Regions from separate parts of the Homo sapiens genome. Here regions 2 and 3 are each linked to region 1. The links are contacts of gene promoters, found by promoter capture Hi-C in blood cells and fetal thymus (Javierre and others, 2016). All regions are on one chromosome and are shown on one strand. Each heading gives the region's core, a stretch centred on a gene start or on the middle of the fragment in contact. The rest is flanking DNA. Distances are from core to core; before and after follow the strand shown. Region 1 holds the start of OR6C68 (olfactory receptor family 6 subfamily C member 68). Region 2 has its middle 46 kb from the start of OR10A7. Region 3 has its middle 26 kb from the start of OR10A7.

What was found. Contacts are between HindIII fragments. The CHiCAGO score rates a contact against its expected background, and 5 or more counts as called.
Region 2: a fragment that was not itself captured here is called in contact with the fragment with the promoter of OR6C68 in region 1 in 1 of 17 cell types (M1 macrophages); the score reaches 5.7 in M1 macrophages.
Region 3: a contact is called between a fragment that was not itself captured here and the fragment with the promoter of OR6C68 in region 1, in 4 of 17 cell types (monocytes, naive B cells, total B cells and 1 more). The highest score is 5.7, in monocytes.

What each region holds. Positions count from the first base shown.
Region 1 is chr12:55,490,124-55,494,802 of GRCh38, forward strand. OR6C68 (olfactory receptor family 6 subfamily C member 68) reads left to right here and starts at 2,255. Exons shown (of 1, transcript NM_001005519.2): 1 at 2,255-3,193. The coding sequence starts at 2,255. The coding sequence ends at 3,193. The HindIII fragment of the contact is 4,433 bases long and covers 1,602-4,679 here.
Region 2 is chr12:55,172,379-55,177,057 of GRCh38, forward strand. No RefSeq gene overlaps it. Among named protein-coding and RNA genes, the nearest start is that of OR10A7, 46 kb to the right of the region's middle. RefSeq lists enhancers at 1-982, 101-862. The HindIII fragment of the contact is 680 bases long and covers 1,690-2,369 here.
Region 3 is chr12:55,192,578-55,197,256 of GRCh38, forward strand. It overlaps the pseudogene OR10U1P. Among named protein-coding and RNA genes, the nearest start is that of OR10A7, 26 kb to the right of the region's middle. The HindIII fragment of the contact is 1,346 bases long and covers 1,515-2,860 here.

The sequences.
Region 1 (4,679 bases), core at 1,005-3,504:
TGCAAGACTGGATTCAGGGAAAGCAAAATATCAAAAATGAAAGATAGTCTTAAGACCCAAACAAAGCTGAATCCAATACCAAGAGAACTACTGGATGGTAAATTGAAATAGTGAAAAAGAAGAAAACAGGACAGAGGTTCTAAGTGTGAGTTACAGAGTCATCTTCTGATTATAATGTTCTCTCAAAAGGGTATTAGCTTCCTAGCAAGCTTTATCTACCCTGAGCCTAGATTAAGATGCATGCCCTGTGATGGTGTTCCTCTACCATGGAGATTTTGCTCAGTATATTGGGTGTATACTAGCAGAAGACAGTGCTTACTTGATTAGACAAAAAAGGGAAAAACACTGATTGTTTAAAGCTCTTGTAGTAGATGCATTAGGGCTTTTTGAGGGAAATATTCTAAAACCATAAGAAAATGCCTTATTTTATATCTCTCTTGCATTTAATAAAGGTAAGAAAATTTGAAGCTCTTAAGACATTACTTACAAATTAGAAACCTGTGAATATCTAACAATATGATTGAGAATACACAACAGCAACTTCTACCTAGCTATTGAACTTAGCCCAGAATAACAGAGTCCCTAGTCTTCAGTCTTATTATTTCACTGAAAGAAATATTGAGGAAACATTGAGGGATCAATATACTAAAAGAAATAAACAATAAGATGGGGAAAATTAGCCAGTTGCACTTTGGCAAAGTTTAATCTCCATTAGCCCTAATATTACACCTGAATCAAGGAGTAAGTAATTGTATAGAGAATGGCACACATTTAGTTTTTGCTCTTGATAGCCCTGTTTACACCAGTTGTATCAACGTAATTATTAACTGCCCCCGCTGTGCTTCTCAAGTATCTTGGTTTAGATAATAAACTATGTAGTAACCCCAGCTTTGTTTCAATTACCAATAGACAGAATATTATCTTCATGAAATTAAAACATTCAGGTAAAGTGTTCACCACAAACACAGCGCAGTGATTAAAGAACTGGGACTCTGGGGTTTCTCTAGCCACTTACTATCCTGAAACAATGGCCACATACTTTACCTCTTTGTCGATCAGCTTTTTCATTTTTTAAGTGGAGATAATATACCTCCCTACTTCACAGGTTGTCCTAAGGATTATATTAATTATATATGTAATATACTTAAAAGAGAAGCATAGCAAGAGATTTGCCTGAAGCATAGCAAGAGATTTGTGTTTGTCATATTATGATTATACTGGGTTAAGTCACAGGAAGTTAACTGATTAAGCACTTTTAAAAATCTGGTGAGGTGAAAAATAAGAGAGTAACAGATTGAGAAACGAATGCGTACTGTGGAAATAGAGTCAAAGAATGTAGATCTGAAGGAAATGAAAAAGGAGAGAATATTGTGTCATGGCGAGGATATTCAGCAATTTTTGTCTTGACTTTTATCCATGTTGTATAACTTGTTCTAATCTGAGTAGCTAACTGAACGCAGGAAGACATAGTTTTTATATTTTTCAGCAGTTCATTTATTATAATCAAAACTGTCTTGCACTGTGATAAAAGGGCACTGAAAAATAATCATATTATACTACACAGCACTATCCAGGGAGTAGATATAAGATTTAGATAATGAAGCTTAGAAGAGATATGTAAAATTATAAACGTGGATGCCTTAGGGTCAAAAGATGGTTTTCTCTTAAAATGAATAACCAACAATTAAAAAGCAGTCAAAAAGCAAATAAATATACATCTTAGAGGGAATTGAAATGTTTTGTTTGGAACCTGATGTATGTTTTATTTTAGGGTTTTACAATTCCCAAATTTTAAAACAGAGATGAAACTAAAGCGAATTATTTTAATGTAGCTTATGAGTTGCAGAAAAACATTTGGCAGCATAAAAAACAGTCATATTTCAAAAAATAATGCAATCCAATAAAAAGGCACAACTCAGAATGAGTTAAAATGTTTAATACACTATAAATTAATTACTATAGAAGATTAATAAAGAAAAGTTATTCTATAGTTCGTTGACTAAAATTTATAAAATAATCTTATTTGGCCATTTTGTATAAATAGATCAAGGGAGCTCAACGTACTAAAACATGTACATATATGTTATTTATATTCTCACTATAAACTTCTGCAGATCAACAAGTAAAACCTATGATGTTGGATAAATGAAACATGCATGAGAGTGTTCATCATTAGCTGCTTTTTTTATTGAATGCTGCAGTTCAAATTTCTCTGACATTTACATGTAGTTTTGGAAAAATGCAGAAGTCAGTAATGAGAAAACACACAGCAATAACAACATTCATCCTTCTGGGACTGACAGAAGATCCTCAGCTGCAGGTTCTGCTTTTCATGTTTCTATTTATCACCTACATGTTGAGTGTAACAGGGAAACTGACCATTATCGCCCTCACCATGTTGGATCCCCACCTGAAAACACCCATGTATTTTTTTCTCCAAAATTTATCTTTCTTAGAAATCTCATTTACAGCTACCTGTGTTCCAAGATTCTTATACAGTATCTCAACTGGGAACAAAATAATAACGTATAATGCATGTGTCATTCAGCTATTTTTTGCAGACCTCTTTGGGGTAACTGAATTTTTTCTTTTGGCTACCATGTCATATGATCGCTATGTGGCCATCTGCAAACCCTTGCATTATATGGCAATCATGAGCAACAAAGTGTGCAAAACAATGGTTATTTGTTGTTGGATGGCAGCACTTATGATTATCCTCCCACCACTTAGCTTAGGTTTTCATCTAGAATTCTGTGACTCTAATGTCATCAATCATTTTGGCTGTGATGCATTGCCTATTCTGAAAATACCATGCTCAGACACATCATTAATTGAGCAGATGGTTGTAGCCTCTGCTGTATTAACCTTTATTATCACTCTTGTATGTGTAGTTCTGTCCTACACATATATCATAAGAACAATTCTAAAATTCCCTTCTGTTCAACAAAAGAAAAAAGCCTTTTCTACCTGTTCTTCACATATTACTGTGGTTTCCATCACTTATGGCAGCTGCATCTTCATCTATATCAAGCCATCTGCAAAAGAAGAGGTAAACATTAATAAAGGTGTGTCAGTGCTTATTTCATCCATATCACCTATGTTGAATTCTTTCATATATACTCTTAGGAATGAGCAAGTTAAACAAGCCTTTCATGACTCACTCAAAAAAATTGCATTTCGTTTAAAAAAGTAAAGTGTACCTAAGTTGATAAATCAATATAAAAGATCTGCTTCATATTTTTCATAAAGCCAATAACCAACTTTGTAATTTCTTAGTCTATAGAGCAATCAAGTTGACTGCATAGCCATTTAATCATTAATTTTTTATTAATTTACGTACTGAGAAATTAATTATTGAATAATATTCTATGATAGACAAAATATATCACTTTTAATCCTTAACCAGATTAAACCACTCTTTTTTCCTTCTTTCCAGTTGATTTTCTCTGATAATTTTAAAATATGGGTGTGAAGTTATTTTTTTCCCAACTTCTATGAGTAGTCATTCTTTTTTTTTTTTTTTTTTTCTCCCCTGGAGATAGATTCCCACTCTGTTGTCCAGGCTGGAGTGCGATGGTGCCATCTTGGCTCACTGCAACCTCCAACTTCCAGGTTCAAGCAATTCTCATGATTCAGCCTCCCAAGTAACTGGAACTAAGAGCATGCGCCACCACGCCCACCTAATTTTTGTATTTTTAGTATAGACAGGGTTGCACCATGTTGGCCAGGCTAATCTCAAACTCCTGGTCTCAAGTGATCCACCCACCTCGGCCTCCCAAAGGTGCTGGGATTACAGGCGTGAGCCACTGCACCTGGTCTATGAGAATTCACTCTTAATCAAGATACAAATTCCTTGCCTCACTGAAAAAAAGTCAGATTTAAGTAACAAACTTTAAAATATCTACAGCAAAAAGAGAAAATTTCATGAAAAATATTAAAGAGAAAACATAAGTAAAAGAATAGCTTTATGGTACAGTTAACATGAAAGGCTTAATATAATAAATATGTAGGAAGTTTCTATGAATCAAAAAAGGCAACAAATTTACTATAAATACCAAGAAAATATTAGATATTTATTTTACTAAAAAATAAAATTACCTATAGCAATAGGAAGGGATGCACAACTTCATTATTAGCCACAGATTTAAACATTAAAGTCATGATATACATTTCACCCATCATATTTGCACAAACTAAATTTTTCGTATGTTCAATATTAGCCAGTATGCTAACACTTAAAGTAAAACATACACCTCAATGCACAATTTACTTGAAAACATTGGAATTTATATTTACTAACAGTACATATAAGATTTCATCTAGAAATCAACATCTAGGGATTTATGCCAGAATCTACTTGCCAATTATTATACTCATTGCAGTCATTTTGTAATAGTAAAAGATTGAAAATAACCAAATGAACATCACTTGGCAATGTGTAAGTCAATTAGGGAATTACAGCATAAGATGTAGTACTTATCAAATGATATAGAACTTGATCTTATAATGGAAGGATATTAAAATTTTTAAAAACTGGCTGGGCGCGGTGGCTCACGCCTATAATCCCAGCACTTTGGGAGGCCGAGGCGGGCCGATCACGAGGTCAGGAGATCAAGACCATCCTGGCTAACACGGTGAAACCCCGTCTCTACTAAAAATACAAAAAATTAGCTGGGCGA
Region 2 (4,679 bases), core at 780-3,279, 320 kb before region 1:
GAACTTGTTGGGAACTGGAGTAAAGGCCACTCTTGCTACTCTTGCTATGTTTTATGTAGTGAAAGTATGAATACATTTCTGTTTTTTTGCAAATGGATATTCAATTGGTTCAGCACTATTGGTTGAAAGGTTATCTTTTTTTTTTTTTTTTTACTAAATTGCTTTTTTAGTGGACTGTCTTTTCCTTTGGTCTATTTGTGTTTCTTGATGTAAATTTCACACTATCTTAATTATTGTAGCTTTTTAAGTTCTCGTAAAATCAAGAGGTTTGATGCCTTCAGTTTTGTTCTTTTTGAAATCATTTTGGCTATCTTGGTTGTTTGCATATGTATGTAATATTTTGGATAAATTTTTAAATTTCTACCAAAAAGATCTACCAAAAAGAGGGTCCCCTTATCTTCCTTGAATCTCTGACACACCCCATAAGTGTTTATATCAGATACTTTTGTGAAGATGAGGGAACCTGCCCAGGGTCTTGTCTGGGCATGCCTGCCATAAACTGAGGGCCTGCCTGGGCACTGGGAGAATGAGTGGAGCCACTGGGAATTGGTGCCTTATGTAGTTAGGAGAAGGCTGGCCTCTTCAGCTTGAGTGTGGTGGCCTGGTATTCAATGAGGTGTGAGCCTGTTGGCAGGACCCCGTTTTTCTTGGCTGAGAGTTTTCTTTTTGCCTAATAAATCTGTCCTTCTCACCCTTCAAAGTGTCCATGTGCCTAATTTTTCCTGGTTGTGAGGCAAGAACGTGGATTTTAGCTAAACTAAGGAGCAAAATATCCCACATCATTTTGGTGGCCTGTATGGGGACATGAGGAAGGGTGAATCAAATGCAGAATCCCCCACAAAACCTCTTTCCCTTTTGTTTCTCAGCTTTTTCTTGCCCTCAGACATCTTCTGAAGGTAGAGAAAACTGTGACCCTCCACTTCCGTTGCCTTGGGGATTGCGAATGTCAACCTCAGTCCAACCCAGTCTTTTCTATGGCATTTTCCTTCTTTTGGGGGGGATTGTAATGGCACCTATCTTTTCTTTTACAATATTGGGGGTGTTCCACCACCACCCCAATGGTCACAGGCATGCATGCAAGACAGATAGGTGAGTGGTGACTCCCTGCCCACCTCCACCCAGCTGGGGCTGGGGCACCTGGCCCAAGGGCTCCACACAGCACGCTGGCCAGCATTCCCAGCAGCATCGAAAAGTTTCTCTCCAGTCCAACAGCAAGTAAAATTTCTCTCCCTGTTGGAGGAACACATTTGCATAAGAATAGGAGATTCTTCCCCCAGGCATCTTTCCAACTCTGTACTTAAGATGTTTTATTTTCTTTTCTTCACCCCATCAGCACTTAACACATCCCTGCACTTTAAGCTGTATTTTTTCTTTTCTCCACCAGGTCAGGAGTTGGTGGGTTGGTGCAAAAGTAGTTGTGTTATTTGACATTACTTAGCATGATGGGGACCATGAATGCTTTTGCACCAACCTAATAACACGCTCCTGCAAGTAGAAGGGACTTCTCTATGCCAGAGGCCTTTTTTCCTTTGAGAAGACATTATACTAGGCCAGGACTCAGTACACAAGACACCCTTTTCTCTCTCTTGTTGGAGGAGGACTCAGTTCCACAGCTTCACCTTAGCATTTGGCTTGTAAAGTGTCCACACAACCCGCCGAAGCAGTTCTTTTGTCCCAAACTCAATTCCAAGCTTTGAGTCGAAGCCCTAGGAAAGAAAACTCAATCTGGGGTATAGTGTTGAATAATATTCTATTGTCTAAATGTGCTACACTTTCTTTATCCATTCACCTACTGAAGAGCATCTTGATTGCTTCTGTTTTGGTAATTATGAAAAAGGTGTTACAGATATCAGGGCATAGGTTTTTTCGTGGATATAAGTTTTCAACTCTTTTGGGTGAATACTACACAGTGTGATGGCTGGGTCATATTGTAATAGTGAATTTAGTTTTGTAAGACAAGGCTAACCTGTCTTTCAAAGTGGCCGTGCCATTTTGCATTTCCATAAAAATTAAATGAACATGCTTGTTGCCCTATATCCTCACCAGTATTTTGCATTGCCAGTGCTCTGGATTTTGGCCATTCTAATAGATGTGTGGTAGTATCGTGTTATTTTAGTTTGCATTGCCCTGATGACATTTGATGCAGAACATCTTTTCATATGCTTATTTGACATTTGGCTATTTTTTGTGTGTCTGTTAAGCTATGTGGCCTATTTTTAATATTAAGTTATTTGCTTTCATATTGTTGAGTTTTAAGAGTTGTTTGTATATTTTGGTAACAGTCCTTTATCAGATATGACTTTGCAGAAATTTCCTTTCAGCCTGTGGCTTGTCTTTTTATTTTGCTGACTTTTTTTTTAACTGTACAAAGCTTACACATTAGTCAGATTTATTACTAAATATTTAATGTTTTGAATCTATTCAGTGGTGTATTTTTAGAAGAATCCAGTTATACTCTAACTCTCCCAGAGTTATATTAGAAATACCATATAACACTCCCAGAGATATGTTAGAAATAACATATCTAAACTCATCATGAGGCCAACATTACTTTGAAAACATATCCATCTCTCATGAATATAGCTACAACAATTCTTAATAAAATTTCAGAAAATCAAATCTGCAAATATAAAAAGAGGAAACATTAATGTTACCACATTATAAGAAATCAATGTAATTCTCAAGGCTACACTAGATTCAAAATATGGAGAAGTATATGTAAATTCTATCTCTTTGTAAGGATGAGCTGGCAAATATCAGAGTGATATTTGCAATTAATCACAAGATAGTATCCCCCTGTTGAAGGGTGTGAAGTAACACACTAGAAGGGGCAGGTTGATGAATATAGAGCCATTGTATAATCTCCACCCTTTTTCCTTAATACTCCAATTTTTTGAAAGAGAAATAAACTTATAGCTTATTCAGGTTGCATTGATTTTGTGATTTATGATCCTCATAATTTTCAAGAACAATCCTTGTAAATATGCTATTTCTGTGTGGATCCTTCCTCCACTCCTTGATGCTGGATGCTTCTCCCATACCGCAGATTTGAGGTTTACTTCCCAGAAAGTGTAAAGCGGAGGGTTTCTAGACTTGGAGACATAATGTACAGAAGATGAGTGGTTTTATACCAAAACTATGCGACTAAATTCCATATTCTGAACATATGTGAGATGTCCCAGGACTCCTCCCTCATTTGACAATTTTTGCTTCACATATTTTAATGGTCTGTGATTAAGTGTGTGAATGTTTATAATTGTTTTATCTTCTTGTGGTATTAAAACTTTTATTGATATGTCCTCCTTTTTTCTTGTTATTTTTAAAAATTTAAAGTCTATTTTTCTGATGTTAGTGGAGCCACTCCTGCCTTCTTTTAATTACTTTTCTATCATTTCACTTTTAATCTATTTCTCTCTTTAGATCTAAAGTGAGTTCCTTGTAGGAAAGTATATAGTTGTGAACCATGCTTCAAGGGGTTAAAAAAATTAATAAATTCTTGGGCTTACTGCATGGCAGATAAGAAGAGAAACAACTTACTAAAACTGTGCCCCGAAAGTAAGAAACTAGTAATTAATAGAAATTATTGAGTTTTCAGGATAGCAGACAAGAAAATAAACAACTTGATGAAATGCTGAAACTCTCTCCGCTGTAAGATAAAGAAAAAATTTGCTGAAGTCAGTTGGAACCAAGACGGCTGTATTAGTCCATTTTCATGCTGCTCATAAAAACGTACTTGAGATGGGGTAATTTATAAAGAAAAAGAGGTTTGATGGACTCACATTCTCAGTCTCACAGTTCCACATGGCTGGGGCGGCATCACAGTCACGGTGGAAGGTGAAAGGCACAAGCAAGCAAAAGTGGTTTCTCCATTATAAAACCATCAGATCTCATGAGACTTATTCACTACCACAAGAACAGTATGGGAGAACCACCCCCACAATTCAATTATCTCCCACCGGGTCCCTCCCGCAACATATGGGAATTATGGGAGCTACAATTCGAGATGAGATTTGGGTAGGGACACAGCAAAACCATATCAGTGGCCAACTAGAGTTTGCACATAATGAGCTTGCTGATGTCACCACAGCCTTAATTTCCGCTGCATGTTTTATACTAACTCCCCCTGAATTTGCATATGCAATGCATGAGGTAGTATGAAGAGATAACTGCACATACCAAAGGACTTTCCAGACCTCCTCTTTCCTTTCATCAATCACCTGCTAATTTCAGAATTAACACCCTAAACCTTTTCTAATGAGATTACTGCCTTAAAGCCAGCACAGGGAGGAAGACTTGAGCTCAACTCCTGTCTCCTTATGAGTCAACTTGGCAATAAAAAGCTTTTCTTTTCTCAAAAACCTGGTGTCATAGTATTGGCTTTTAGTGCATCAAGCAGCAAACCACTTTTGTTTCAGAAAAATTGAATCTTTTTTTGTTTTTTTCTTCCATTCCGTCAGTATCTATTTTTTTGATTGGAGAGTTTAATCATGTACATTTAAAGTAAGAATGGGCTTATTTCTGTTACTTTATTATTTCTATATGCCTTATAGTTTTTAAAAATCCTATTTTTCCTGCAGTACTTTTTTTTGGTGTTTAGCCTTTTTTTTTTTTCTACTGAAACATTTACATCCCTTTCCCATTTAACTTTTTCATGTATATTCTTTAGTTATATTTTTGTG
Region 3 (4,679 bases), core at 938-3,437, 300 kb before region 1:
GTTAACAATGCAGTTCTGTCAATATGATTGCATGTTATTCCACAAAAGCTATTAGGTTTCCCAATGATAATATGCATCATTTTCTTGCAGCACTGTTAAGTCTACCTTACTTCAGTGTTGAGAACCTCTTCAGAAAGGGGCCAGCTATATTGCCGTTGCTCCCCTTGTAGTCTATACCCAAAACCTCTTCTCCTATTTCCTTCACAAGATTAAATTTTAGTGGTTATTTATGGAACCTGACATAATAATGGACACACTGTTTTTCTTAACTCATGTGTATCGTTTTCCCACTTCCAAGCTTCTTTCAAATAAATTAATTGCACTTGTATTAGAGTTTGACTCTAGAGTATCAACACTAAGATAAAATCAAAAAACTTTCAGGTTGACAAAATGTCTCTGAACATTTACATTTTTGTCAACTTCTCTAAAGTTGCCATAAGAAACCAACAGTTTTTTAAAGTTCTTTGTTTTAGTGTCTTATAGAAGACTTGCTTTTTATTATTCAAAGAGACAAAAACAATATATATTAGCTAGAATATATACACCGTGACAAAAGAAAATTATATTTAAATCAATACATTTAAACAGGGTTTACAATAGGTGTAATAAGATTGTATGTCTCAAAGGCAGACATTTCCCTAAGTCTTTACTCACATGAAAAACAAATAAACAAACCAACAAAAAACAGGTGGATAAGAGCAAAGGAAAACTCATGTTTCAGATAAAGAATTCAGGTCTCTCACTGGATTTACAAACTAAATATTTAAAGTTCTTTCATGGTGTACACCACTCATTAGTATTTATTAACAGTTGGTTATTTAATATGTATGACCTTAAGATGTACAGAGAGCACACTAATTAAAGGAGCATACTCCAATTAAGAACTTAAATTCTAATAGACTATATTTGATACTAAAATAGTATTACTTCCTGTTTATTTCATTTTTTGTTTTATACTCATAAAGGATATTTCATTTTCCTCAGGAAAATGGCATGAAACATACTGGACTTAATGCTATTACCACTGGAGAAGGAGAAAATGGTAGCTTGACACATGAGATGCCCTGTAAATACTGTTGAATGAATGAATGATTAACAATTGAATGAATCTACTGTGTAGTTTCCTTTTACTTACAGACATTGAAAAATGTGTGACAAATCCAAATGTTTTTTGGTAGCTAGGCTATAAATGCTTTAATAAAAGAATATGTTGGTAGAAGAATCATAAAATCGGGTAACCTCTCTGTACAGTAGCATAGGTTTCAGCTACTATGACTGGTTTAGGCCGTTTGTCTAAGAGAGTTCCTTTGGGTTATCCTTTGAAAGGCTTCCTTTACTTCCTTGTTCCTCAAGGTATAGATAACAGGATTCAAAGCAGGTGTGACCATTGTGTACATGAGTGCAGTTGCTTTGTCTGTTTCTGGAGTGTGTGCAGTCTTAGGTTGCAGATAAGTGAACAAGGCAGTGCCATAGAACAGAGAAACAACCAAGATATGAGAAGAACAAGTGGAGAAAGCTTTGTGTCTTCCAGCTGCTGAAGGGATTCTCAAGATGGTCACAGGGATGTGCATGTGGGAGCACAGAATGAGGAAACAAGGACTCACAATAAATAGCACGGAGAGAGAAAACATCACAATTTCAATTTGGGAGGTATCAATACAAGCCAGTTTCAGTACAGGCATTATGTCACAAAAAAGTGTTGAATCTTTCCTGTTCCACAGAAAGGCAAAGTGAAGATCAGGGTGATCTGGGCTGACTCCACCACCACTCCAGTGAACCAAGATGCTGCAGCCAATTTCAAACAAACACGAGGGCCCATGAAGAGAGTGTAATGCAGTGGGTAACAAATAGCTACAAAGCGATCGTAAGCCATAGCTGCTAGCAAGCAGCATTCTGTCAGTCCCAAGATGGCAAATATGTACATCTGGGTTGCACAGCCACCCACACTTATGGTTTTGGTCTCCACCAGCAGGTGCACCAGCATGAGGCACCACACTGGTGGTATAGCACATCTCCAGAAATGAGAGGTTCACCAGGAAGAAATACATTGGAGTGTGCAGGGCAGGGGTGATCCAGATCAGGGAGATGATGATGATATTTCCTCCTATAGTGCATAAGTGATGATTAAGAACACAATGAAGAGTACAAGCTGTAATTCTTCTATAGAAGAAAAAGCCACAAATGTGAATTTGGCACACAGGGACTGATTTCCATCTATGGTGGGCTCAGAGCTAAACATCTGTGCAGACAACAAAGAAGGCAGGTTAATGGGAATGCAGTCACCTAACACATCTCTCTACTGAACCACAGCAAAGGAGCTTTCCTAGAATCAGTAGTCTGAGATGAGAATCTAGACACCTGGATTTCTTCTGTTAAATCTTTCTAAACTACACAATTACATCGAATACATATTTCTTCCTGATTTTAAGTTATGGATTATATGCAATTTTCACAAACATTTGGAAAAAACAATGGTTTTTAAGTTGCATATTCTGAATCTTTTGTTTTTGTCTTATCACTAATTATATACAGAAGCTATTATGCAAGCAATATATGAAGACTTATAATTTTAAAGGAGTCACATAAAAATTAATAGATTCAGATGTAAAGGTGTTATACTCTGGTCTTCCAAATTCTATAACCTTCCTTAAAGCTACACTTAAGGGCTTAAAAGGGAATATATTTCCAGCTGTTTATCTATGTATTTATGTACATATTTTACTTGATCTGAACAGAATAAGCAAATAATTACAAAGCTAAGATCCAAGAAAGCCAAAATCGACAGAATCTCCTTTCTACAACCTCAGTGTAAATTTGCAAGAAATTACAAATAGGAGAACATACCTAGAACCACAAGGTAAGCTTTCTTTTCCTTTTTGGGCTCCTAGACTTCCTATGGCTCTAAATTATAGCACAGTGATAGAATAGGCAGTATTTTTATTTCTACTAGAGACCATAGGGAATACATCCACTGTGCAGCTTAATTATATTTGTCTCAAGAGGAGTATATTAAAAACAATGAGTGTTTAATGTGCAAGTTGGTTTTCAGTTGTTAAAGACATTTCCAGAGATACCTATTGCTGTCAGTTATATCACCTGTTCCAATGCATAAAACTAAAAGTTGCTAATTGGAACCCATCATACAACTGAAATTATTATTAAACTCTATGGATGTTTGCCATAGTAATCCTTTTTAAGCTCCTCAAATGGACAGTGACTAATTAGGCCTTTGTAATATTGGTAGGCACAGTGCATGGAACATAGTAGCCTCCATAAACCCCCAAAATAGCATTCACTTTATTCATTATTTATTATTCAATTGCTAGCAGCATTAAAAAAATAGGCACGGGAAGAAAACCCCAAATTTCCAATGGAATTAATTAAAGTAATTGGTCAAAAACATTAAAAAATGTATTTTTCTTCTACTGTCTTCAAGAAATGAAAATATTTTTCATTCTGAATGATCCCCATTGCTCCATTCCGGACACATTTTCTTTTCACTGTCAGGTCAATATGGTAAATTCATTGGGACATAGAGTAAGGCAAGTAAAAGAGGTTACAAGATCGATCAGTTTTGAAACTAATGCGTTAGATGGGACTGCTATTCTCGCCTCCCACGATTCCCATGCCAAACCAAAAGGCAGGAGTTTTAGACATTGTCTCTCCCTCCTAAAAAAATATGTATGCTTTTTTTGTGCCACTCATGCTGCCTCAGAGATGAAAGCCATGTGTTTTGGGGAGTGCTCTTCCATCAGTGTGGAGGTACTGCCAGAATGAATATACCACATTGAGAATGTTTAGGTTGGTGCAAAATTAATTGCGGGTTTTTGCCATTACTTTGCACCAACCTAATATTTAAGAAAACGCATTCTATTTGATGGTATAGCATCCCTGAAATACTGCAGCAGAAGGTCACATCATGCATAATCAGTGATATTTTGCCAAATCTCCCCACCAGGGTCTGGGAGTAAGAGTAAGTACATAGCTGTATTTCTTTGATATGTTTTTGCCACAAAATACTTACAAAACAAAAACAGCTGCTAATTTCTCCACATTAATTCCCACCTGGACTCTGTGTTGTGTTTATTTCTCAATCTGATTCTGAAATTAGAGGAATTTTTTTTAAATATGGATACATGATTGGATGTGGGGTATTTAAGTGAGAATAGTAAAAAGTCCTCTCCTGCTGCCTCAGATCTGCTTTTATCCTGAGTAAGTGGGTAAGAGGAAACAATGTTTGGTGAGATAATGGCCAGATTAGTATATGCACTACTGATAATAACAACAACATATAGACTCCAGATTCCATCATGCTATCTATCGCACATCCTCCTAGAGTCCAGGAGTTTTTCAATGGTCCTGGAAAAAGTACTTGAGATGAAAGGGTGCATCTTATCTATGTGGTATTTTTGAAGGCAAGAAAAGAGAGTATTTAGGAAGGGAGTGATCAACTGCACCAAATATTTCTGAGATGGTGTGAAAAAATAGCTTTTAATTATCTGTTGACTTTTAGCTCCACACAGGCTATTGATGACTTCAGAAAAAAATAATTTGGAAAGAGAAGTAAGAACATGAACCAGAGTGAAGTTGTTTTTGAGGAAATAGAATTTTAAAAATGAAAAAAACCAGTAGGAGCAATACATTCTAGAAATTTGGCCATGAAGGGCAGGAGGAAGACA